Regions from separate parts of the Homo sapiens genome. Here regions 1, 2, 3, 4, 5 and 6 are each linked to region 7. The links are contacts of gene promoters, found by promoter capture Hi-C in human tissues and cell types (Jung and others, 2019). All regions are on one chromosome and are shown on one strand. Each heading gives the region's core, a stretch centred on a gene start or on the middle of the fragment in contact. The rest is flanking DNA. Distances are from core to core; before and after follow the strand shown. Region 1 holds the start of SAV1 (salvador family WW domain containing protein 1). Region 2 has its middle 20 kb from the start of NEMF. Region 3 overlaps NEMF (nuclear export mediator factor). Region 4 overlaps ATL1 (atlastin GTPase 1). Region 5 overlaps NIN (ninein). Region 6 overlaps LINC01588 (long intergenic non-protein coding RNA 1588). Region 7 holds the start of L2HGDH (L-2-hydroxyglutarate dehydrogenase).

Region 1 (3,369 bases), core at 12-2,511, 360 kb before region 7:
CCTCTCTTATTTTCACTTCATCACTTATCACTATCTAACATAGTATGTTTTGCTTATTTTTTGTCATTTTTTTCTCTTTCCCATGACAGTAGGGATTTTTGTCTGTTTTGCTTATTGCTCTATCACAAACGACTAGCGCAGTGGGTAATGAGTATTTCCTGGTTAATGAATGAATTGTGGGAGATCTGCACCAAGGGAACATATGGAGACAGACACTAGATCAAATGTCTCCTTTGTTTGCTCATGGTAAAACATTTGACCATCTTCTTAATCTTACGTGGTAAAAAATTCCATGTCTTTTGTTAATTGTGATATATGTCTTAGATCTCTTGTGAGATGTTTTAGATCTCAGGGAAAGCATTCCTCATTATTAAAGCATTAATTTGGTCACTAGGGGATGAATCCAATCTTATTTTCCAAATGTTATCCTGTACATTTGGCAGTCTTGCTAAGTTATATAGAAGGAAGTAGAGTCTATTATTTTAGATAGAAAATTCCCGGTCCCGACTCGCAGTGGTCAAAGTCTTCAAAATTCTAAGATCATAACACATAACGTCAGGAGGAAATATGTGGCTATTAATCATACTAATGATAGTGATGATGCAATAAAATAATTGTAATATGCTAACACCAATTGTATCTTAAAAAGAGGTACTGGAAATTCCATCTTGCATTCTTCCGTTTTTTCCTGTTATAGAAAAACGCACTCCCTGATACTCAGTAGAGGATCAACTTATTTCTAGTTAATCAGCATGAACGTTTCCAGCAGAATAGATGCTTTGGTGTAGCACTTGCCTGGGAGTCATGGTTAGCATTCCGCATTTTTTAGAGAGCTGAATTCAGCAGCCTAGGAAACATTAGGAAGAACACCTTCAAACAGGGAACAACGTCTTGGGGGGAAAGAGAGTCACTGCCTCCGCTAGGGATCCCGAGGGGGTACAAAAGCAACAACAATAAAAACTCGTGGAGAGTAGGTTCCACGACATGCGCATGCGACGAACTCCCGCACTCAGCGGGGCAGGTTTCGTCCTTCATCTTCTCAGTCGGCAGGACCTGCTTCTCGCTGAGGATGAGTGAGGACAGCCGCAGCTCGGCGGGGACGGCCCGGTAGCCTAGAGCGCCGGCACCCGAGTCCCGCCGCCGGAGCCGCGCCTGGAGCCGCGGTGGGGGAGGGGCAGCGGCGGCCCGCGCTGCGTCGAGCTTCCCAGAATTCCCAGCGGCCGCGGGGAAAGTTTACGGGATGTAGGCGGCGGCGGCGGTAGTGGTAGCGGTTATTCGGCGGCCCGCGGCGGACCATGGCCCTGGCCCTGGCCCGGCGTCGCTGGGCTTTCCTCACGGCGTCCCCGAGCAGCGTCGCAGAGCGGGCCGACTTCCGGGAAGGAACTGACCAGCGACTGAGCGGCGGCCGGCGCGCTTAGCGCCCTGAACATGCGGCAGTCCCTGCGGGCGACCCCGGGCTCCGGACAGGCGGCGGCGGAGGCGGCGGCTCGGGAGGGAAGGAGGCGGCGGCGCCGGCGGAGGTGGCGGCGGAGACGGCCGGCGCCCGGCGCGGAGCCCTAGGGAGGCAGTTCAGCGCGGCCTCGGGCCTCGTCGAGAAGGATGCTGTCCCGAAAGAAAACCAAAAACGAAGTGTCCAAGCCGGCCGAGGTGCAGGGGAAGTACGTGAAGAAGGAGACGTCGCCTCTGCTTCGGAGTGAGTGTCAGGCGGGGCGTGCCCACACCTGGCCCAGGCGGCCAGGTGCTCCGGGGACCCTGGCGGGGGCGCCGGCGGGTCTCCAGGGCTTCTCCTTCGTCCTTGGTCGCGTGAAATACTGGTTTTGAGATTTTCTTGTGTCTGAAGTGGTATTCGTTGATTGAAAGCCCATAAGAGTAAGAAACTTGGGTTAGTCCCCCCCGCGCCTAACCCCCCCAAGAGCACCCCCTAAAAATAACAGACTTCCTCGCCCCACCAGGCAGAGTTGTTGGTTTTGATTACTGGAAGAGAGAGTAGGAAACATTTAAATTGCTTATCACCTAATGCTATAGGAGTAAAAGTAATTAGACAGGGACACTTTTTACTCTTTTAGATGCGTCGAGATGTGCGTCATGTTTGCAAACATTGCGGGTGTCTCTCGACTGTGCTGCAAGTTGTGCGAACTCTGGGGCAGAATTCCTTAGTCCTGCTGCCGGATGCAGACTTGAGAAGGTGAAAAGCATACCGTCGTTCTTGTAGCCGCCACCCAAAGCCTCATCACTCTTACACAGCAGAGCAGAGAGCCAAAAGCCTTTGTATTTGGCTATATTCGTGAGATTCCAAGAAGGCAACTCAAAATAATTTCTATCGTATTAGAGAACCCCCCCCTCGAAAAGTTTTTTTTTTTAATAGGGTAGATCCCACTCCCAATCCCCACCTCCGGTCCCCCGCTGCTTTTCTTCTTAATGTAAGTATTTGATTTTTGAGTTGAATCTCTTGAATTTTTAATTCTTGTGTGTTCAGGACATTTGTGAGGCATGGAGCTGGTATTTTGGTGCTCTTACTGCGCCCTGGGCCCTTTGCTTAAGTTTCCTTCTTGGAAGCTGGTAGTAACCTTGTGACTTAAGTATTACCTCATATTGTAATTGGGAAAGTTAGGTTTCTAGTATTTGCCCAAGATCACACAGATGGGAGAGCATGTTTTTCCATCATAACCACATTGTCAGCCTTCCAGATTTATGGTGGTACTTGCAATACTTTCAACAAAATATATGTCAGTTGAGTACATCAGTAACTCGAAACTTGATTTTTAAGTTGTTTTTTTTTTTTTTTAACAACTTGATTTTCAGTCACACATGCAGTTAGGTTTCTGGCTGTTTTTAAGTGATAGCTTGCTGTTTGCTGCAAATAAAGTTTATCAGACATTACTTGAAATCGTGAATTATGTTTGTCACACTTTTTATTATACTTTAAGTTCTGGGGTACATGTGTAGAACGTGCAGTTTTGTTAATGTTTGTCACAGTTAAGCAAATAACTTTTGATCTACTTTGTTTTGTTGTCGTTACATCAAGTGTTGAGCCTTATTTATTCAGATATTTGTTTCTGTCCAGTGTTAGTTTCTGAAGCTTATTAATATGAGTGTCTCCAATATTGTTTACTTGATGAATAATAAGAGGGTCTGCATATTCAGGTTTTTGTCTTGTTTTAAAGGTATTTGCTTTCTAACTGGGAATGTCTTAAGCTGTTTTCAAGTTTCGTGTTTAAAAGTACTGTATCCTAAAAGCTGTTGTTCTATTATCTACTATTTTGAATTATAATTACATAGTTTCAGGCTTGGTTTTTTGAGCCACTTCTACATTTGTGTGCTTCTTTGAAATGAGAGCTTTTTATTTTCAATTTTCATACATAAATTTTT
Region 2 (3,403 bases), core at 812-3,311, 440 kb after region 7:
AGAAAGAAAGAAAAGAAAAGAGGAAAGAAAAGAAAAGAATATCCCTACAGCTAACATACTTAATGGTAAAAAACTGAATGCTCTCTCACTAAGATCAGAACAAGGGAAGATGTTCAACCTCACTGGTCTCGTTCAACATGGTGCTCAAAGTTCTAGCCATGCATTAGGGCTAGAAAGTGAAATATTAATAAAAGGCATATAGATTGGGAAGGAAAAAATAAAACTTTTGCTACTTATAGAAGACGTTATTTCCTACATATAAAATCCCAAGAAATCTGAAAACACAAACCTCCCACAATAATTAACTGTATTTCAGCCAGGCATGGTGACTCACGCCTATATCCCAGCACTTTGAGAGGCCGAGGTGGGTGGATCATGAGGTCAGGCATTCGAGACCAGCCTGGCCAACATAGTGAAACCCTGTCTCTACTAAAAATACAAAAAATTAGCCGGGTCTGGTGGCAGGCACCTGTAATCCCAGCTACTCAGGAGGCTGAGGCAGGAGAATCACTTGAACCTGGGAGGCCGAGGTTGCAGTGAGCCGATATTGTACCACTGCACTCCAGCCTGGGGGACAGAGTGAGACTACGTCTCAAAAAAACAAATAATAATAATAATAATCAACTGTATTTTATATACTGGCAATAAACACATGGACACTAAAATTTTAAATACAATATTTGTATTCACTCAAAAAATTGAAATATACAGAATGTATATATCAAAAACTACAAAACACAAAAGAAATAAAATAATATCCAAACATATGGGAAGATACATTATGTTCATGGATTGGAAGATTCAGCATGGTAAAAAAATGTCAATTTCCTCCAGGTTTAGTGCAATTCCTATCAGAATCCTAGCAAGATTTATTTTGTAGATATAGACAAGATTATTCTAAAATTTATATGGAAATGCAAAGGAACTAAAATAGCTAAAACAATTTTCAAAAAGAAAAGTGGGACGAATCAGTCTACCCAATTTTAATATTTATCACATAGCTAGTAATCAAGACTTTGTCATCTTGATGGAGGGATAAGCAGATCAGTGACACACAACAGAGAACCCAGAAATGAACCCACACAGATATGCCCAACTGTTAAAATGTATGTAACATAAAATTTGCCATTTTAACCAATTTCTTTTTTCTTTTTTGTTTTTCTTTCTTTTCTTTTCTTTTTTTCTTTTTTCTTTTTTTTTTTTGAGACGGAGTCTTGCTCTGTCGCCCAGGCTGGAGTGCATTGGCATGATCTCAGCTCTCTGCAAGCTCCGCCTCCCGGGTTCATGCCATTCTCCTGCCTCAGCCTCCCAAGTAACTGGGACTACAGGTACCCACCACCAGGCCTGGCTAATTTTTTGTATTTTTAGTAGAGACAGGGTTGTTTCACCATGTTAGCCAGGATGGTCTCTATCTTCTGACCTTGTGATCCGCCCGCTTCGGCCTCCCAAAGTGCTGGCATTACAGGCGTGAGCCACCTCGCCCGGCCAACCATTTCAAGTGTATAATTCAGGAGCATCAATTACGCTCACAATATTGTACATCCATCACTACTATTTCCAAAACTTTTTCAACACCTCAAACAGAAATTCTATACCCATTAAGTAATAACTCCAGCCTGGGAAACATGGTGAAACACCATCTCTATAAAAAAAAAATGCAAAAAGTAGCCAGGTGTGGTGGTGCACACCTGTAGCCCCAGCTACCTTGGAGGCTGGAGGTGGGAGGATCACCTGAGCCAGGGGAGTTCAATGCTGCAGTGAGCCACTTCCCTCCAGCCTGGGTGACAGAGTAGGACCCTGTCTCAAAAAAATGAAAAGTAAGATAAGATAAAAATTCCTAATTCCCTACCCTAATTCCCAACCTCTGTCTACTTTCTATCTCTACATATTTGCCTATTCTACAGATTTCACACAAATGGATTTATTTGTCCTTCAGTGTCTGGCTTATTTCACTTTACATGTTTTCAAGGCTCATTTATGTTGTAGCATGCGTCAGAACCTTATTCCTTTTTATGGCTGAATATGAATATGCATCACATTTTGTTTACTTATTCATCTGTTGATGGACAGTTGAGTTGTTTCCACCTTTTGACTATTGTGAATAGTGCTGTGACAAACATTAATGCGAGTATCTCTTTGAGTACCTGCTTTTGGTTCTTTGTGGGGTCTGTACCTAGGAGTGGAATCACTCAATCATATGGTGATTGTATGTTTACATTTTTGAGGAACTGTCAAACTGTTTTTCACAGCAGCTGCACTATTTTACATTCCCGCTGGCAATGTATGAGAGTTCTAATTTCTCCACATCCTTGCCAACACTTGTTATTCTTTTCTTTGTTGTTTTTGTTTGTTTCATTGTTTTCAGATGAGGTCTTGCTATGTTGCCCAGGCCGGCCTGGAACTCCTCGGCTCAACAGATCCTCCCATCTCAGCCTCCTGAGTAGCTGGGACTACAGACATGCACCACCTGCCCAGTTCAACACTTGTTATTTTCTGTTTTGCTGTTGTTATTTTCGTGATCCTAGTAGGTAAGAAATTGTATCTCTTGTGGTTTTGATTGCATTTCCCCAATGACTAATGATGTAGAGTTAATGAATGAATGAATGAATGCACAAAGGGACCTACTATTTTAATAAATCTTATGCTCAAAAGGGGATAAATCACTCTTCTAGTTTATATTATTATTATAATGTACAAGAACATTAATATTTGTTTTTATAATGATAAATCATAATAGCATTTGTATATAATGGTTTTGATTATACAAATACTCTTGTAATATGCAATATTGTTTATCCATACATCACAGTGACTATAGACTGTCTCTTTTAACAATATTCTAACTAATGTGTAGTGGTTTTGCCTTTATTTGTTTCTTGCCACACCCTAGGCTATACTCCCCCTTGGAAAATGAGCTGTGTCACAAAATGAATTAGAACCTTGTCAGCAAGGGGTTTCAGCTGAACAGACACAGGCAGCTTGTGCCTTCAGTATTCTCTGTATAAATTGGACTGCTTTTCCAGTTCATTAGCCCTAAAAGCAAACACTGAGAAAAGTGTGAATTCCTTTGGTCATAAAATATACATATAGGCCGGGCGCGGTGGCTCACACGTGTAATCCCAGCACTTTGAAAGGCCTAGGCGGATGGATCACCTGAGGTTGGGAGTTCGAGACTAGCCTGACCAACATGGAGAAACCCTGTCTCTACTAAAAATACAAAAAAAAAAAAAAAAATTAGCTGGGTGTGGTGGTACATGCCTGTAATCCCACCTACTTAGGAGGCTGAGGCAGAAGAATCACTTGAACCCAGGAGGTGGAGGTTGAGTTGAGCCAAGATCACACCACTGCACTCCAGCCTGGGCAAAAAGAGTGAAACTCTATCTCAAAAAAGAAATGTATCATA
Region 3 (3,194 bases), core at 525-3,024, 500 kb after region 7:
AAAGATGCCACAAAACACTTTGAGATGAACGAAATGAAAATACAGTGTGTCAAAACTTATGAGATGCAAGAAGAGCAGCCCTTAGGGGGTAATTTATAGCTATAAATGCCTATATTTAAAAAGAAGAAAGATCTCAAATCAGTAACCTAACTTTGCACCTTAAGAACTAGAAAAACAACCCAAAGCAAGGAGAAGGAAGAAAATAGTAAATATTAGAGTAGAAATGAACAAAACAGAGAATAGGAAAAAAATAGAGAAAATGAACAAAACCCAAGTTGGTTCTTTGAAAAGATAAACAAAATTGATAAACCCTTGGCTAGACTGACCAAGAAAATAGAGGACTCAAATCCCTAAAATCAGGAATGAAATAGGGAACATTACTTCCGACTTTACAGATATTGAAAGGATTATAAGGGAATACCATGAACAATTATATACCAACAGATTATGTAACCTAGATGAAATGGACAAATTCCTAGAAAGATATAAATACTAAAACTGACTCAAGAAGAAATAGAGAATTGAAATAAACCTGTAAGTACAGAGATTGGATTAATAATAAAGAAAAACATTAAAAAAATACTCATCAAAGAAAACCCTAGGCCAGATGGCTTCACTGGTGAATTATAAAGAAGGTTGAATGCCAGTTCTTCACAAACTCTTCCAAAAAATAGGATCAGTGGGAACACTTCCTAACCCATTCTACAAGGCCAGTATTACAAAACCAAAGATAACACAAGAAAACTACAGACCAATACCGGTTATAAATATAGACAAAAATCTTTGACAAAATATTAGCAAACTGAATCTAGCAGCATATTAAAATGACTATATACGATGACAAAGCGTAATTTATCTCAGGAATGAAAGCTTGGTTCAGTATATGGAAATTAATGTAATATAATCTACTAATAAAGGACAAAAAACACACATGGATTATCTCAACTTATGAAGAAAAACCATTTGACAAAATTCAACATTTGTTTGTGATAAAAACACTCAGCAAACTAGGAATAGAAGGGATATTCCTCAACTTGGTAAACAAGCATTTATGAAAAACCGACAGCTAACAATCATACTTAATGCTGAAAGATTGGGTACCTTCCTCCTCCCATCAGTAATAAGACAAATATGTCTGTTCTTGCCATTTCTATTTAACATTATACTGGTGGTTCTATATAGGTCATTAGGCAATAAAAAGAAAAAAAAATCCAAATTAGGCAAAAGTAAAGCTACCTATGTTTACAGTTGATATGGTCACACACATTTAAAAAACCTAAAGAATCTACCAGTAATTATCAGAGCTAATAAACAAGTTCAGCAATGTCCAGGATATGAGATCAGTAAACAAAAATCAGTTGTATTTCTGTACACTACCAGTGAACAATCTGAAAAGGAAATTAATAAAACAATTCAATTTATAATTAGCATTAAAAAGAATAAAATACTTAGGAATCAATTTACCAAAAGACTTACAACGCTTATAGATAACAAACTATAAAATTATTTTAAGGAATTAAAGACCTAAATTGGACATCCCATGTATATGTATTGGAAGTCTTAATATTGTTCTGATAGCAGTACTCCCCAGTAATCTAGGAATTCACTGTAATCCCTCTCAAAATTGCAGCTGCTTTTTTTGTTTTGTTTTGAAACAGGGTCTCCTGTCACCCAGGCTGTAATAAAGTGGTGCGATTGGCTCACTGCAGCCTTGAACTTTCAGGCTGAAGCGATCCTCCCATCTCAACCTCCTGAGTAGTTGGGACCATAGACATTTGCCACTGTGCCCAACTTATTTTTGTGTTTTTTGTAGAGATGAGGTTTTGCCATGTTGTCCAGACTAGTGTCGAGCTCCTGAGCTCGAGCAGTCCATCCACTTTGACCTCCTAAAGTACTGGGATTACAGGCATGAGCCACTGCCCCTGGCCCTGCATTTTATTTTATTTTATTTTTTCAGAGATGGAGAAGCTGATTCTAAAATTCATGTGGTAATGCAAGGAGACTCAGATTAGCGAAAGCAGTATTGAAAATGAAGAGCAAATTTTGAAGGACTCATGTTTCCTGATTTTAAAGCTTTCTACAGAGTAACAGTAATCAGGACACTGGTACTGGCATGAGGATGGACAAATAGATCAAGGGATAGAATCGAGATTCCAGAAATAAACCTGTAGTTTATGGTCAGTTAATTTTCAGCAGGGGTGCCAAGACCAATGGGGATAGAATTTCCTCTTTCTTTTTTTCTTTTTTTAATTTTTTGTTTTTGGTTTTTTGAGATGGAGTCTTGCACTGTCACCCAGGCTGGAGTGCAGTGGTGTGATCTCGGCTCATGCAAGCTCTGCCTCCTGGGTTCACACCATTCTCCTGCCTCAGCCTCCCGAGTAGCTGGGACTACAGGCGCCCTCCACCACGCCCGGCTAATTTTTTGTATTTTTAGTAGAGACGAGTTTTCACCGTGTTAGCCAGGATGGTCTTGATCTCTTGACCTTGTGATCCGCCCGCCTCAGCCTCCCAAAGTGCTGGGATTACAGGCACGAGCCACCGCACCCGGCCTCTTTTTTTAAATAGACATTTTTTTCGACCAGTTTTAGGTTCACAACAAAATTGAGCAGAATGTATAGTGATTTCCCTCATACCCCCTGCTGCATGCATGCGTAGCCTCCCCTATTATCGATATCCCCCACCAGAACGGTACATTTGTTACAACTAATGAACCTACATTGACACATCATTATGGCCCAGAGTCCATAGTTTGCATTAGAGTTCACTCTCTTTTTTTGAGACAGAGTCTCGCTCTGTTGCCCAGCCTGGAGTGCAGTTGCGTAATCTCAGCTTACTGCAACGTCTGCCTCCCAGGTTCAAGCGATTCTCCTGCCTCAGCCTCCAGAGTAGCTGGAATTAACAGGCACGTGCCACCACACCCAGCTAGTTTTTGTATTTTTAGAAGAAACAGGGTTTTACTATGTTGGCCAGGCTGGTCTCGAACTCCTGACAAGTGTTCTGCCCACCTCAGCCTCCCAAAGTGCTGGGATTACAGGCATGAGTCACCAAGCCCAGCCAGGGTTCACTCTTGATGTATATAGTCTTTGAGTTTGGACAAATGTGTAAAACATGTATCTGCCATTGTATTATCATACAGATTTAGTTTGGTTGTGCTAAAAAAGTCCTCTGTGCCCTGCCTGTTCATCCCTCCCTTC
Region 4 (3,038 bases), core at 137-2,636, 310 kb before region 7:
GCTTATTATAATGCATTCCCTCCAGAAAATGTATCCAAAAATTGCTCCGTGCATAGCGTGCCCACCTTCTAAGAACTGTACAAAACTGGGTAAGCTGTGGTAACTGGACTGCAGAGTTCAAAAAGATAGTGACAATGATGCTACCTCTAGTGGTGGAACTCAGCAACACAAAATAAAATAGCAAGAAAAGGCCACTTAAGCAGATGAGAGGTAGTATGAGTATGTAGTTGTCATGTTTGATATAATTGATTACACATAACCCAAGCTGTAGCAGTAGGTTAAAGCTTAACATTACAGACTTAGCAAAGTAATATAGAAAACAGATCACGAGAGAAGTCTTCTGAACACAGGGACAATTTCTTAAATTGTTATTTCAAATATATGGAAAAATTGGGGCCGGGTGCAGTGGCTCCCACCTGTAATCCCGGCACTTTGGGAGGCCGAGGCAGGTGGATCATTTGAGGTCAGGAGTCTGAGACCAGCCTGGCCAACGTGGTGAAATCCTGTCTGTATTAAGATATAAAAATTAGCTGTACACGGCTGGGTGCAGTGGCTTACGCCTGTAATCCCAGCACTTTGGGAGGCTGAGGCGGGTGGATCATGAGGTCAGGAGATCGACACCATCCTGGCTAACACGGTGAAACCCCACCTCTACTAAAAATAAAAATAAAAAAAATTAGCCAGGCGTGGGTGGCATATGCCTGTAGTCCCAGCTACTCTGGAGGCTGAGGCAGGGGAATCGCTTGAACCCGGGAGGCAGAGGTTGCAGTGAGCTGAGATCACGCCACTGCACTCCAGCTTGGGCGACAGAGGGAGACTCCGTCTCAAAATAAAAAAAATTAGCTGTACATTGTGGCACATGCCTGTAGTCCCAGCTACTCGGAAGGCTGAGGCAGGAGAATCGCTTGAACCTAGGAAGCGGAGGTTGCAGTGAGCCAAGATTGTGCCACTGCACTCCAGCCTGTGCGACAGAGCAAGACCCTGTCTCAAAGAAAGAAAAAAAAATATATATATATATACACACACACACACACACATACATTATATATATATGGAAAAATACACATACTATGTAAAAAAGCAAGATCTGTCCAGTGACTTGCTTGATTTCTAAGTAAATTCAGTAACTGCCTGTAATTTTTAAAAATCTAAATTTTAGCAGAGTTAGAGTTTTCAGGCTTTGGGGTTGGTGATTTTGAAGGCCTTAAAGATTCAAAACTTAAGACTGTGTTTGCATTTTCCCCTTTATTATAGCCCCAGTTATAACATTGGGGCTACATTGAAATACTATTTTATGTTAGAATTTGTTTTCTTTACTTCTTTTATAACACACACAAGCATGATGCTGGATATCTTTCCAAGTTATTTTGTTTCATGTTTTGTGCCACTTTGAAATTCTAGTGACCGTGATTTACAGGTACTTGCAGTGGAGTTTATTCACTTATTTTGCTGTTTGCATTGTACCAATTTTCACTGATAATTTTGCTTTGTACTATATATAGATTTATTATTGTGGTTTGCTTTTTAGTTACTAGTATTCACTGGACTACAATACTGATATTTGTATTTATGTTACCACGTTCCTGTTTTGTGTTTTATTGCCTGCCATGTATCTGTATTCACTGACACTAATAGGTTTCTTTTTTGCTATATGATTTTACGTTTTTTCATCTTTAGTAGAATATTACTATACACCTAGAATGTATGAATTCTTCAGTTTCTGAATAAAACAAAGTTTTCTTCTTATAAAACCACTTTAAAATCACTTTCAGAACTTGTATATAAATTTCTGCCCCCAAACATTCCTTATACAATTGGAATGGAATAAGATACGACTGTGTGTTAATGCACCAGCAAGTGTGGTAATTAATTATCATTAAAGTAACCAGCATCTAACCATACATTTGGATTAAAAATGTGTCTGAAGATGGCAGTAGCCCTCTTTGTTCTCATTGGAACCAATGCTAGGTATTCCAATTTTGGATTCAGAAAATAAGAACAATATATTCATAACATACGTAGGTGGTGAGCTCTTGCTAATGTTAGTTGAACACAGTAAAGACATGAACCAGAAAATCTGCAAACCAGTTCAAATCGATTTGCCGAGGGGCATTAATAAGCTTTGGCCTTGCAAGTGGTCAATTAATATATATGAATAGCTGATTCAGAATTATGTTCAGTAATTTTCTTCAGTAATTTTTTCCACAAGGGCAAAATCTTCCAAGGACTTTAGGGGCTTGGTCAAAGTGGTGGTTACCTGACACAATAATTGAGAATACGATGTATGCTTTATAAGAACTCCACAGGGCAGATGCACTAGTATAGTATTGCTGTATAAATTAACAAAGGAAGATATTTTCTCAGGATTTCCTGATTCTGATAAGTGATTGGAAACACGCATTTGACTATGCATTCTCAAGTCTAACTGCAGCTGCTAAGGAAGCAGCTCCACATCTTATAATGTGGCTACCTGCTCATTCTACATATGGTACTATAACGCAGAGCAACCTCAAAAGAAAAAAAAGGATAACTCCTTGTTATTTAAAAAATTGTATCTGCTGTGCTAGGGTAGGTATTCAGTAAGCACCCAATAAAAGCTGGTTGAATGAAGCATAAATGAATGTGATTCAGTACCTTTAATCTTTTTCATTTCCTTTTGGGAAGTTCTTAAATTAACAGTAGTTAAATTTAATCATATTATTATCAGTTTTTAATAACACTAGAAATAGGTAAGACAATAATAATTGCAATACTTTGAGGGACCATGAACAAATAGTTATTATAACAATGGTTACTATTGATAATGAGCTAGAAAGTTATTTCTGTGTGTGAAAGAGTATATGAGAAACTATTATCAAAGAACAACTTTTGCATAATTGTTTATTCGGAGACTTTTCTTCACTAGAGGCAACCAGTGAGATGCCAGCCCTCTGGAGAACATCACAGTCAGCTGACAAGACATCCTGGATAGAAATCACACCAAATTGTAAGATTCAGCGTGGGACAGAAAAATAATGTAGATAGCAGACTTTCAAAAC
Region 5 (3,405 bases), core at 106-2,605, 420 kb before region 7:
CGCCTAGCCCGTCCCCTCATGCTTGGGATTTGCAGCTGCTCCAGCAGCAAGCCTGTCCGATGGTGCCCAGGGAGCAGTTTCTGCAGCTTCAACGCCAGCTGCTGCAGGCAGAAAGGATAAACCAGCACCTGCAGGAGGAACTTGAAAACAGGACCTCCGAAACCAACACACCACAGGTATGAAGCTCTCTCTACTCTAGTAGATCACCTGTTAATTTTACCTGTTTATTTGAAAGTTATACCAGTTCAAAGGTGGAGAGAAAGAACCTAAATCTAATGGCACACACCTGTAGTCCCAGCTACTTGGGAGGCTGAGACGGGAGGATCGCTTGAGGCCAGAGGTTCAAGGCTGCAGTGAGCTACGATCATGTGTGTGAATAGCCACTGTACTCCAGCCTGGGCATCATAGCAAGACTCCATCTCTTAAATTAAAAAAAAAAAAAACAAAATCACAATCCTAAATCTTCTTTCAGAGAGATATTTAACCTGTATGACAAATCCATAGAACTGCGGTGCTACTTTTGAGCTCTCAGCTTCTAAGCTGAGTCATTTAGTGTTCTGTAATAGACGATTTGCCCATTTGTAATAAACGATGAAGTATCAGGATCACTTAAACACAGCGCACAATTGGCCTGATGTTCCCATCCCATGCCAAAAATATTACAGAATTTAAATGTTGCTAGGATATGCGCTACTAACAAAGTACACTGAGCTTTCCTGTGCCAGAGCCGTGCAGCCTGCTGCATCCCATGAAAATCACAAGTGATGACTTTTCACAACAAATAGAGTGTATAGTCAGTGACATCTTTCTAGTTGACATAGTTCATAAAACTATTTAAGAAAATAAAAATCTTTTCATTGTTTGCATTAGCATGATCCCAGCTCACCACCACATCCAATCTTATATTACTTAGGTTTTCAAGTATTCAGAGTTATTTCTCTTTAATGCTTCATTCATCATCCTTTCTCAGAAGTTTAACTCTTGCAGCTTGCCTATTTAGTTAATTCAGAACTAGGAATAAAATAAAAAGTCCTTCTTTGTGGAATTCTACATTAATCCTTTCTGGTTTGCATGCGCTTGTGTGTTCAGATACCTTGCCACTCAGTTAATGCTTGACAAGGAATTTCCTATCTCTTATTTGAATCCCCTCAAAGTGGCTTTGCAGTCACATTAGCTCTGGAACTCTACATAGGAACAGTTCTGTTTCTTCTACTATCCATCTATGTTTAATTACGAAGTACTCCTACCACTTGTCAGTTCTAATAAACTTTTCCCTCTACATATGTACCTATGCTGTATTTCTAATAAACTTTAGAAGGTTTTTGTTTTATGAGCTTTAAAATCTGTTTTTGGAAGCTTTATACATACCTCTTCAACTTCCCAGTATTAAAGTTCTTAAATTGTGATGGTAGAGTGTTAGATGCTTTAACTCTCCAGTATATAATTGAACTACAAAACTTTGATCTCAGTTTTTAGTGGACCTTCTAACCAAATGATCCGCCAAGATTCTTCTCATTGCTCTCTTACACCCTATTTTCAAAGCCTGCTGTTTCCAACCCACCCACCAATGTTAAAAAAAATATCCTTTTCCTCCAATTCCTTCAGGATTAGACAAAAACTAAGATTTTTGAAAGAAAAAAAAAATCCTCCAACCAGATGACAGAGTGGACGGCTTATTACTCTCACCAGAATGCTACTGCAGGCTCTCCCATTTCCCGCTGCTGAGCTGACACTAATTTTAAGAATGCAGAATATTGTTAAATCTGCACGTTTCTGTGTGTGGAGTGATGTGATCTCTTCTGCATTTTGTGTTGCTTTGCTTGCCTATGTAGTGTTAATGTGTGTGCTTTTAAAAATTGTTTGCATTGTAGATGTGTGAATTTAGACTCCCCCTAAAAACTCATCCTGACATGAGGGTGAAGTGTACTACTTGCCTTCTTTCTCTAGGCCTTGCTACCGGAGCAGCGAGCAGTGCACGCAGATTCCTACAGAAGGATTGGGCACCTGTGAAAACTGGGCTGCTATTGATGGCATTTCTTACCATGGCAGACAGATGCACACACCCACCCATGCACACACACCACACACAGAGACATAAGCTAAGATATGTTGGAATTAAGTGCTCTTTTAAATTATTTTATTATTTTTACTGTTAAACCTTTGCAGTATTATGTCTCTTATTTATTTATGTAGAAATGACAGATCTTGTGAATCAAATTCACAAACATCAGCTTGTTACAAATCATTTTATTTATACCCTTTAAAGAGTGTGGATTTAAGATTCTTGAAAGGATGTAGTCTATATATTTTCTCATTCCATATGTTGTAACTATTTTTAACCAAAGGTACTACTTTTATATATGGAATTTGAAGAAAACCAGGGGTATTTATACTGTTTTGTATAAGATGTACAAATCTTTTTGACAGGAAATTTTTGATGAAACAATAAAATAAATTTTAAGTATATGACTGCCTTTGTTTTTCCTGTTTTTCCACTCTTTTGCCAACTCTATGTTCTTTGAATTATCTTTTTTTTTGTTTTGCTTTGTTGGGCAAATAGACATCATTTTGTATTTATGTTTGAACTTTAAAAAGCTATTATTTTTTTTTAAATATAGGCCTTTTTAAAAGCTAGATGTCCTCCAGGCCCAATTTTTTGTAACTTACTTCCTGCATTAGACCTTTGCCTATTACAATTTTTATCCTCCGGATAGTTACTACATGATTTAGGGTTTCTTTTATGATTAAGTGTTACTACTTAGTATCTAAACAGATGGTAGCCTTTGACTCATGTTTAGTCATTCTGCATGTCTTTTAAAGTATATCTTAACTACCATCAGCTGTTAATACCTTTATGAAATCTGAAATTCCTTATGGGGACATTTTGGTGGACTGCAGAGGGATGGGGGTTGCATTCTAATAAGTCAATTGCATTCTAATCTCTCTAGGTCTCTCTCCTCTCCAAAACTCACTTACTCCTTAACCCATCACCGTTGTGTGAGAACAGGAGATTTTTCATTTTCAATCTGCTCTGATAGTAAACCCATCCTCCAATCCAGATGTGTGCTTCACATTTACAAGTGGGAAACAGATGACTAGAAAAATTGGCAGGAAGAGGCTATTATGAAGAAAGAAACTTACCACCCTCACAGTCATCAGCCACTTCAAAGGAAAAACAGACATGCATATTGCAAGCTGATTGGTTATGTTAGGAAACCCTGAATATATTCAGTGCTTGTTTTGTTGTTGAGAGGCCCATAACATTGCAGAGACCCAGATCACAGATGGGAGGTTGATAGCGATCTTCCAAGTTACCTTGGATGTCCATTTTACTAGAGGTACTCACAGGTATTAAATTATGGGTTTTCAGAATTTTGCTTTATATCAGGGGGATGATGGTAACAC
Region 6 (3,143 bases), core at 452-2,951, 320 kb after region 7:
CAGGCTGGTCTTGAACTCCTGGTTTTAAGTGATCCTCTCATCTCAGCCTCCCAGTGTTGGGATTACAGGCATGAGCCACCATGCCCGGCCTAAGGAATTGTAAAAATTAAATGTGTCATCATTTTGAAACTGGGAAAATTCATGTAAAATTGAGATTCCTGATTTCTTCCAAGAATCACAAGTTTCACCGTGTTTGGCAACACTAGATTGTGGTCCTACCCAACAGTAGTGGGCAAGAGCACATGGTGGGTGAGCACACAGCACCCCCTCCTCTGCTCACTGCACCCCAACACTCACCCATGCAGCCCCACCCCACTTGCTTGGAGTGTCCTGCAGGCGAGGGGCCACAGTGTCACTCCCACCACAGAGTCCCACTCTCCTGTTCTCTCTGCCACTCAGAGGACGTCTAGACCTGTGTTTCCTGGACAGAAGTCAGCCCTGGGAGCCGCAGTTTATGCCTTCCTTCGCCCCCACACAAATGCAAAAGCCTCCTCCCCATTTACTAAGCCAAAGAATGTCAGGATTGAATGTTTTGAAAGAAGAGTTAAAGACAGCTTTAGCCCTGGCGTTCCATAGCTCCTTATTAACACAGAGACTTTTCATAACTCTGAGACAGCTGGAGACACATTTCTGTGAATTCAAAACTCCTGTGAAGGACGCTGGCCTCAAGGGTGCAGGGGAGGCTGGTCAGGTTTCCTAATCTGCTCTTGGACTCAGGGCAGGTGCAGCTGGTGTTCTAGACCACAGCACAATGGCAAGAAGGCCCCTCTGGAGCAAGTCAGGGTCCAGGCGCTACTGGCCCCAGGTGAGCCCAAGATGCAGGCTTCAATGCCAAATTAACCAAGAAACAGACAGGACCCAGGGCCCGAGCACACAGACAGCCTGGTACATGCGGAATCACACACTGATTTGCTCATGGGAGCTGACTGTGAGGGCTGACATCGCCTTTGGACTGAATTGTGTGGAATGTGCTGAAAGAGGCTTTGGAGTCAGAAAATGTTAGAGCCTAGCAAGACACTCTAGAAAGCATCTGCTCCCAGGGTCCCCAACAGTGACTGCTCTTGATAATCATGTAAACATTTCCAAAGTACAGATTCCAGCCAGGCGTGGTGGCTCACACCTGTAATCCCAGCTACTTGGGACGCTGAGGTGGGAGAATCAATTGAACCTAGGAGGCGGAGGTTGCAGTGAGTCAAGATTGTGCCACTGCACTCCAGCCTGGGTGACAGAGTGAGACTCTGTCTCAAAAAACAAACAAAAAACAACATACAGATTCCTAGGCTCCAGCTACCCCTGCCCCAGCACACACACACGCACACATGCACATATGCACACACATAGATTCTCATGAGCAGCCAGGTTTGGGAACCATTGGTGTAGCCCAAACCCTTCCATTCAGTTTCTCAAGTACAGTACTATGTTCAGTGACATTTCCAAGGCCACATCGCTGGTTTCGCAGGACTGGGATTACAGGACAAGTTTCTTGACTACAACCCAGGGCTTTTTCCACAACACACTATCTATCTCCTGGATGTACCATAAAGGAGGCTGCCGATGTACCCCAGAGATTTTTGGATGTGGAGAGAGGGTAAGAAGCATAGCCTTTGTGCTTGTAAAGTAAACCAAGGTAATTTTCCCCAATATTGGCCTCAGTCTCAAGTCTCTCTGGGCAAGAGATTCTGCCTCTAGCTCTACAATTAGTACAGTTTCCCTTGTTTTTTGAGAGGGGATGAAAAGTACTGTACATGTGTGTGGAGACTTCTCTGTGCCTCAGTTTACCTCTATTTATTTATTTATTTATTTTGAGACGGAGTCTCGCTCTGTCACCCAGGCTGGAGTGCAGTGGCGCGATCTCGGCTCACTGCAAGCTCCGCCTCCCGGGTTCACACCATTCTCCTGCCTCAGCCTCCTGAGTAGCTGGGACTACAGGCACCCACCAGTACGCCCACCTAATTTTTTTGTATTTTTAGTAGAGACGGGGTTTCACCGTATTAGCCAGGATGGTCTCGATCTCCTGACCTCATGATCCGCCCATCTTGGCCTCCCAAAGTACTGGGATTACAGGCGTGAGCCACCACGCCCAGCCAGTTTACCTCTACTTAAAATGGAGAGAGTGCCCAGCACCCTTCTACCTTCTCCCTTGGGGCTCTGCAGATTGACCGCACAAAGATTGACCACACAGATTGATTGACCTGTGAAACCCCAAGGCAGAAAAAGAAGCTTTCTGTGCCCACACAGAGGTGTTCTTAAAGTCAGGGTTGCTCTTGGCACACATATTAATAATCCTGATGTCTAGGTACCATTGCAGATCCTTTGGTTCCCCTCTACCCGTTCCAGGAAAGACTGCCTGTCTTCTCCGAGTTTCTTGAGGGCTGATGAAATATTTCCTGAATGTGATCTCAGAAGGAATCCCAGTTTTGAGGGACCAAACAAGATTTTTTAAAAATTAAATACTACTACTAAATAGCTGGTATTGAGTTAATCCTAAGTGCCAGGCATTATGCAAAACACTTTACATGCATTATGGCATTTAATCCTCACTACAACCCTAGTGAAATAAATATCAATATAATTAAAAGTATAAATATAAATGAAGTGTTATAATAGTCTCATTTTACAGATGTGGAAAATGAGGCTCAGAAAAGTTCACGTGCCCAAGATCACACAGCTGCTAAATGACAGAGCCACGATTCAATTCACATAGTCATCTCTAGAGGCAAAGCTCTGGTAAAGGGCTTGATGACTGGTCACTGTCGTCACGAACTTGACCTTTCCTGCAGCACTGCCTGGTACTTTCCCAGTACAGTGTTCTGCCCTGACACAGCCAAGGCCAAGGGCAGTGCAGGCACAGCCACCGTGACTCTCTGCTGGGAGGTTAACAGCTCCATCAGTTCAGGGACTGCCTGACCCAGCCTGACCAAATTAGAGCAAGTAATGGGTGTGACATAATTTGACATGTACATTGTTAATTGAACCCAATGGGAGATGATTTTAAATAGAGGCGAATACCACGCTGTGAACTATTTGGGTTATGAAGCTCTTATTCTCTTATCCTTGCAGGAGAAAGAATTGTGCCATGAAAAATGGAAAACTCCTGAGAAGCTGTTCCAGCGTCAGGAGAGCAGCAGACAAGCTGGACTGGG
Region 7 (3,149 bases), core at 315-2,814:
ACCTGATAACCATATAGAACTAAATATACACAGAGAACACTAATACAAAATGAGGAATCTGAATGAGATCAATGGATTGTGTGAATGTCAATTACCTGGTTGTGATATGGTACTAGTTTTGCAAGATGCTACCACTGGGAAGACTGGGTAAAGGGTACACAGAATCTCTATTCTTACAATTGCATGGAAATCCACAATTACCTCACAAAGTTGAATAACCATCTCTTTTTTTCATCTGTGATGGAACAAGCAGGCAATATTCTACATTGTTTTAACAAATAAAGCAAACTATGTACCACTGTTCTGGTGGTAAAACCCTTTAACCATAATAAATGTCATCACGTAGCAAATGCTTCACTGTGCTAAACACCTGCTGACCTTATCTCGTGTAATCCGCTCAACGGCCCTAAGACTAGGGAGACACTGCTATCATTCCTAGTTCACTGAGGAGGGTCTGAGGCAAAGAGGTGAAGTGATTTCCTGGAGCTACCTGACCAAAGACTGGAACCAAGATTCTTAGAGGCACACGAAGTCCTTCTGGTAATAAATCTGTATAATTCTATTTGTTATGTTCAGCTGTCCTAACCCTAAAAATTAAAAACTGCCATCAAGCATACAGAATGAGTGTTAGCAACACCGGCACAGTGACAATTTTAAAGAGTTAGAAGGTCCTTTAGAGATTACACAGCCCATCGCCCTCATTTTTACATAAAGGGAATCAGGTGAAGTGACCTGCACAGGTGAGTCGCTGCTCAGAGACCGCACAGCACATTTAAAACTGTATCTCGGTTCAGTACTCAAGAAAAGGACACAGACTTATAAATGGTGGCAAAAACCGAGCTGTCTGGTTCTTCCGGTACCCAGTGCCGGGTCGAGTACAGAGCAGGCGCTCCATATTTACAAGACGAATCAATGACTGAATGAATAGCACCGCCAGGAGCCCCATAAAAGAAGTCCAGAAGACTGCGGGCTGTCAGTCTTCGCTGTGACAAAGAGCCTCCGTGAGGAGCGAGGATTAGGGCCGGACAGGGAGCGCCCTTCTAGTGGACGCTCGACTGGGCTGGGGCCGGGATGGAGACGGTGGGTGCCCAGGCCCTCCGTCTACCGCGGGCCGCGTGCGGGGCCGAGCGAGGACCCGGCTGGAGCTGGAGCGGGGGCGGGGCGGGGGCGGGGCCGAGGGCGAGCCGGAAGAAAGAAGCCGCAGGGCCCGCCCAAACAAGAATTTTCACCGTAATCCCGCCCAGAGTTTCTCCCACGGCCCCATGTCCGCATGGCGGTGAAGGTCGAAGACGCGCGACCCAAAGGGCCAGGTTTTCAGTCAGCCCAGCGTTGGCGACGGGCGAGGGCAGAACACAACCACCACCCTAGTCCCGCCCGGCTCGGGGCCTAGCTTCTCTACTCACAGCGTCGGAGGGAGGGAGGGAGGGAGCGAGCCAGCGTCCCCGCGTCTGCGGCACCCTGGCCGGCCCTTCGCCCTCCGACGCGCGCGCCTATTGGCCACCGCAGCCTCTCCCACATGGGGCGAAGGCGCGCCACTTCATTGGCCCCCGCGTGAGGGGCGGGGCTAAAGAGCGCGGGTCCTCGGCCGTGGAGGGTCAAGTGGCTTCTTCTGAGCGCTGAGGGAGGGGAGCGTGCGTAGGGGATGGTGCCAGCGCTGCGTTATTTGGTTGGTGCCTGCGGACGGGCCCGCGGGCTTTTCGCCGGTGGCTCCCCTGGGGCGTGCGGGTTCGCGTCTGGGAGGCCAAGACCGCTGTGTGGAGGTAGCCGCAGCGCCAGCACCAGGTGAGTGGCCGCTGGTCCTCCCCGCCGCCTGCGCTGCTGCCCCTCGCGGAGGCACCTGGTGGTGGACCTGTGCCCCTGTTCGTATTTCCCTGTCCCGGGGTGAGAGCAGGTTGGGGTCCTGTGGCACTCCAACCTCGGATCCCAGGAGCTACCAACCTGCAGGTTCATTCGTTGTATTTACGGGCCGGAGGAAAGGCAGTGTATAGAGTAGAGGTCGGGAGTAGCTCTGGCTTTGAACAACCCGTCCACTTTCTGTTGAACTCTGGGCTAGTTACTTAACCTCCTTAAAGGCTCAGTTGTGAATTGGACCTTAGTCTCTCCTGTAGGTGGTCATTTGAAGGATAAAAGGACCTAGCACACAGTATAAGCAATCAAATATGCTCTTTATAAGCTGGAGTCTTTGGCGTTGCTTGGAAGATCTGAATACAGTCTTAAATCAGTTCCTGGCACACCCCGCATAGTGTTGCCCCCGTCGGAGGCAGCTCTTATGCTAATGAAAGCCCGCAGAATTCAGTGTCCTGTGATTTATAGTTTGGACGTCACATTCGAAACCATTGTCTTTCTCTGTCCTCTGTAGAAGAAACAGTTTGTGTGAAGGCTGTAAGGCTTGGAGAGGTTTTGGCTATTTTGACGACTAGAAGGTGGGCCATATGAGTGTGACTGAAGTTTAGTGGAAGACATATGGTGTGGAATGACCCAGAAGGACTACATCACAGCAAGGTTTTTAGTTTATTTTAACCACACGTTGACTTTTATTCTAAGAGCCACGGGAAGCTATTTAAAAGGGTTTTAAGAAGAGGCTACGCTTTAGGAGGCCGAGGCGGGCGGATCGCCTGAGGTCAGAAGTTGGAGACCAGCCTAACCAACATGGTGAAACCCCGTCTCTACTAAAAATACAAAAAAATTAGCCTGGCGTGGTGGTGGGCGCCTGTAATCCCAACTACTCCGGAGCCTTAGGAGAATCGCTTGAACCTGGGAGGCGGAGATTGCAGTAAGCTGAGATCGCACCATTGCACTCCAGCCTGGGCGACAGAGCAAGACTCTGTCTCGCAAAAAAAAAAAAAAAAAAAAAAAGAAAAGAAAAGAAAAAAAGAAGAGGCTAATAATTAAATGTTGATGTTCTAAAAGTTGACTCTGGCTGCTGCGTGTTGGTGGATAGGGGGAGTAGAGTGGGATACCAGTAATAGCGATTGTGATTTGTTATGGGGCATGTGGACAGTTCTTTTGGGAAGCTTTTCTTAAGGAAAGAAAAGTAGGGCTAGTGAAAGTTTTGTTTATACTTAAAATGTTTTTTTAAAAAATTTTTGGAGTCAGGGTCTCACTGTGTTGCCAAGGCTGGAGTGCAGTGGCACAATCATAGCTCACTG

The links. Contacts are between HindIII fragments. The study calls those that stand out against the background at their distance.
Region 1: a contact is called between the fragment with the promoter of SAV1 here and the fragment with the promoter of L2HGDH in region 7, in 1 of the 25 tissues and cell types used here (heart right ventricle).
Region 2: a contact is called between a fragment that was not itself captured here and the fragment with the promoter of L2HGDH in region 7, in 2 of the 25 tissues and cell types used here (H1 embryonic stem cells and lymphoblastoid cells).
Region 3: a contact is called between a fragment that was not itself captured here and the fragment with the promoter of L2HGDH in region 7, in 2 of the 25 tissues and cell types used here (H1 embryonic stem cells and aorta).
Region 4: a contact is called between a fragment that was not itself captured here and the fragment with the promoter of L2HGDH in region 7, in 1 of the 25 tissues and cell types used here (hippocampus).
Region 5: a fragment that was not itself captured here is called in contact with the fragment with the promoter of L2HGDH in region 7 in 1 of the 25 tissues and cell types used here (aorta).
Region 6: a fragment that was not itself captured here is called in contact with the fragment with the promoter of L2HGDH in region 7 in 1 of the 25 tissues and cell types used here (pancreas).

What each region holds. Positions count from the first base shown.
Region 1 is chr14:50,666,198-50,669,566 of GRCh38, reverse strand. SAV1 (salvador family WW domain containing protein 1) reads left to right here and starts at 1,261. Exons shown (of 5, transcript NM_021818.4): 1 at 1,261-1,693. The coding sequence starts at 1,600. RefSeq lists silencers at 1,024-1,593, 1,704-1,833 and an enhancer at 2,194-2,263. The HindIII fragment of the contact is 8,992 bases long and covers 705-3,369 here.
Region 2 is chr14:49,870,686-49,874,088 of GRCh38, reverse strand. No RefSeq gene overlaps it. Among named protein-coding and RNA genes, the nearest start is that of NEMF, 20 kb to the right of the region's middle. The HindIII fragment of the contact is 9,165 bases long and covers 1-3,403 here.
Region 3 is chr14:49,809,443-49,812,636 of GRCh38, reverse strand. The region is part of intron 18 of NEMF (nuclear export mediator factor); the gene reads left to right. Among named protein-coding and RNA genes, the nearest start is that of NEMF, 42 kb to the left of the region's middle. The HindIII fragment of the contact is 4,499 bases long and covers 1-3,194 here.
Region 4 is chr14:50,616,859-50,619,896 of GRCh38, reverse strand. The region is part of intron 8 of ATL1 (atlastin GTPase 1); the gene reads right to left. Among named protein-coding and RNA genes, the nearest start is that of SAV1, 50 kb to the left of the region's middle. The HindIII fragment of the contact is 3,466 bases long and covers 1-3,038 here.
Region 5 is chr14:50,726,294-50,729,698 of GRCh38, reverse strand. It overlaps NIN (ninein), which reads left to right. Exons shown (of 31, transcript NM_020921.4): 29 at 1-176. Among named protein-coding and RNA genes, the nearest start is that of SAV1, 60 kb to the right of the region's middle. The HindIII fragment of the contact is 9,275 bases long and covers 1-3,405 here.
Region 6 is chr14:49,992,791-49,995,933 of GRCh38, reverse strand. LINC01588 (long intergenic non-protein coding RNA 1588) reads left to right here. Exons shown (of 4, transcript NR_126498.1): 2 at 3,061-3,143. Among named protein-coding and RNA genes, the nearest start is that of LINC01588, 13 kb to the left of the region's middle. The HindIII fragment of the contact is 5,718 bases long and covers 1-3,143 here.
Region 7 is chr14:50,310,644-50,313,792 of GRCh38, reverse strand. L2HGDH (L-2-hydroxyglutarate dehydrogenase) reads left to right here and starts at 1,564. Exons shown (of 10, transcript NM_024884.3): 1 at 1,564-1,782. The coding sequence starts at 1,643. DMAC2L (distal membrane arm assembly component 2 like) reads right to left here and starts at 1,469. Exons shown (of 6, transcript NM_001382507.1): 1 at 1,404-1,469. RefSeq lists silencers at 1,085-1,314, 1,375-1,504. The HindIII fragment of the contact is 14,916 bases long and covers 1-3,149 here.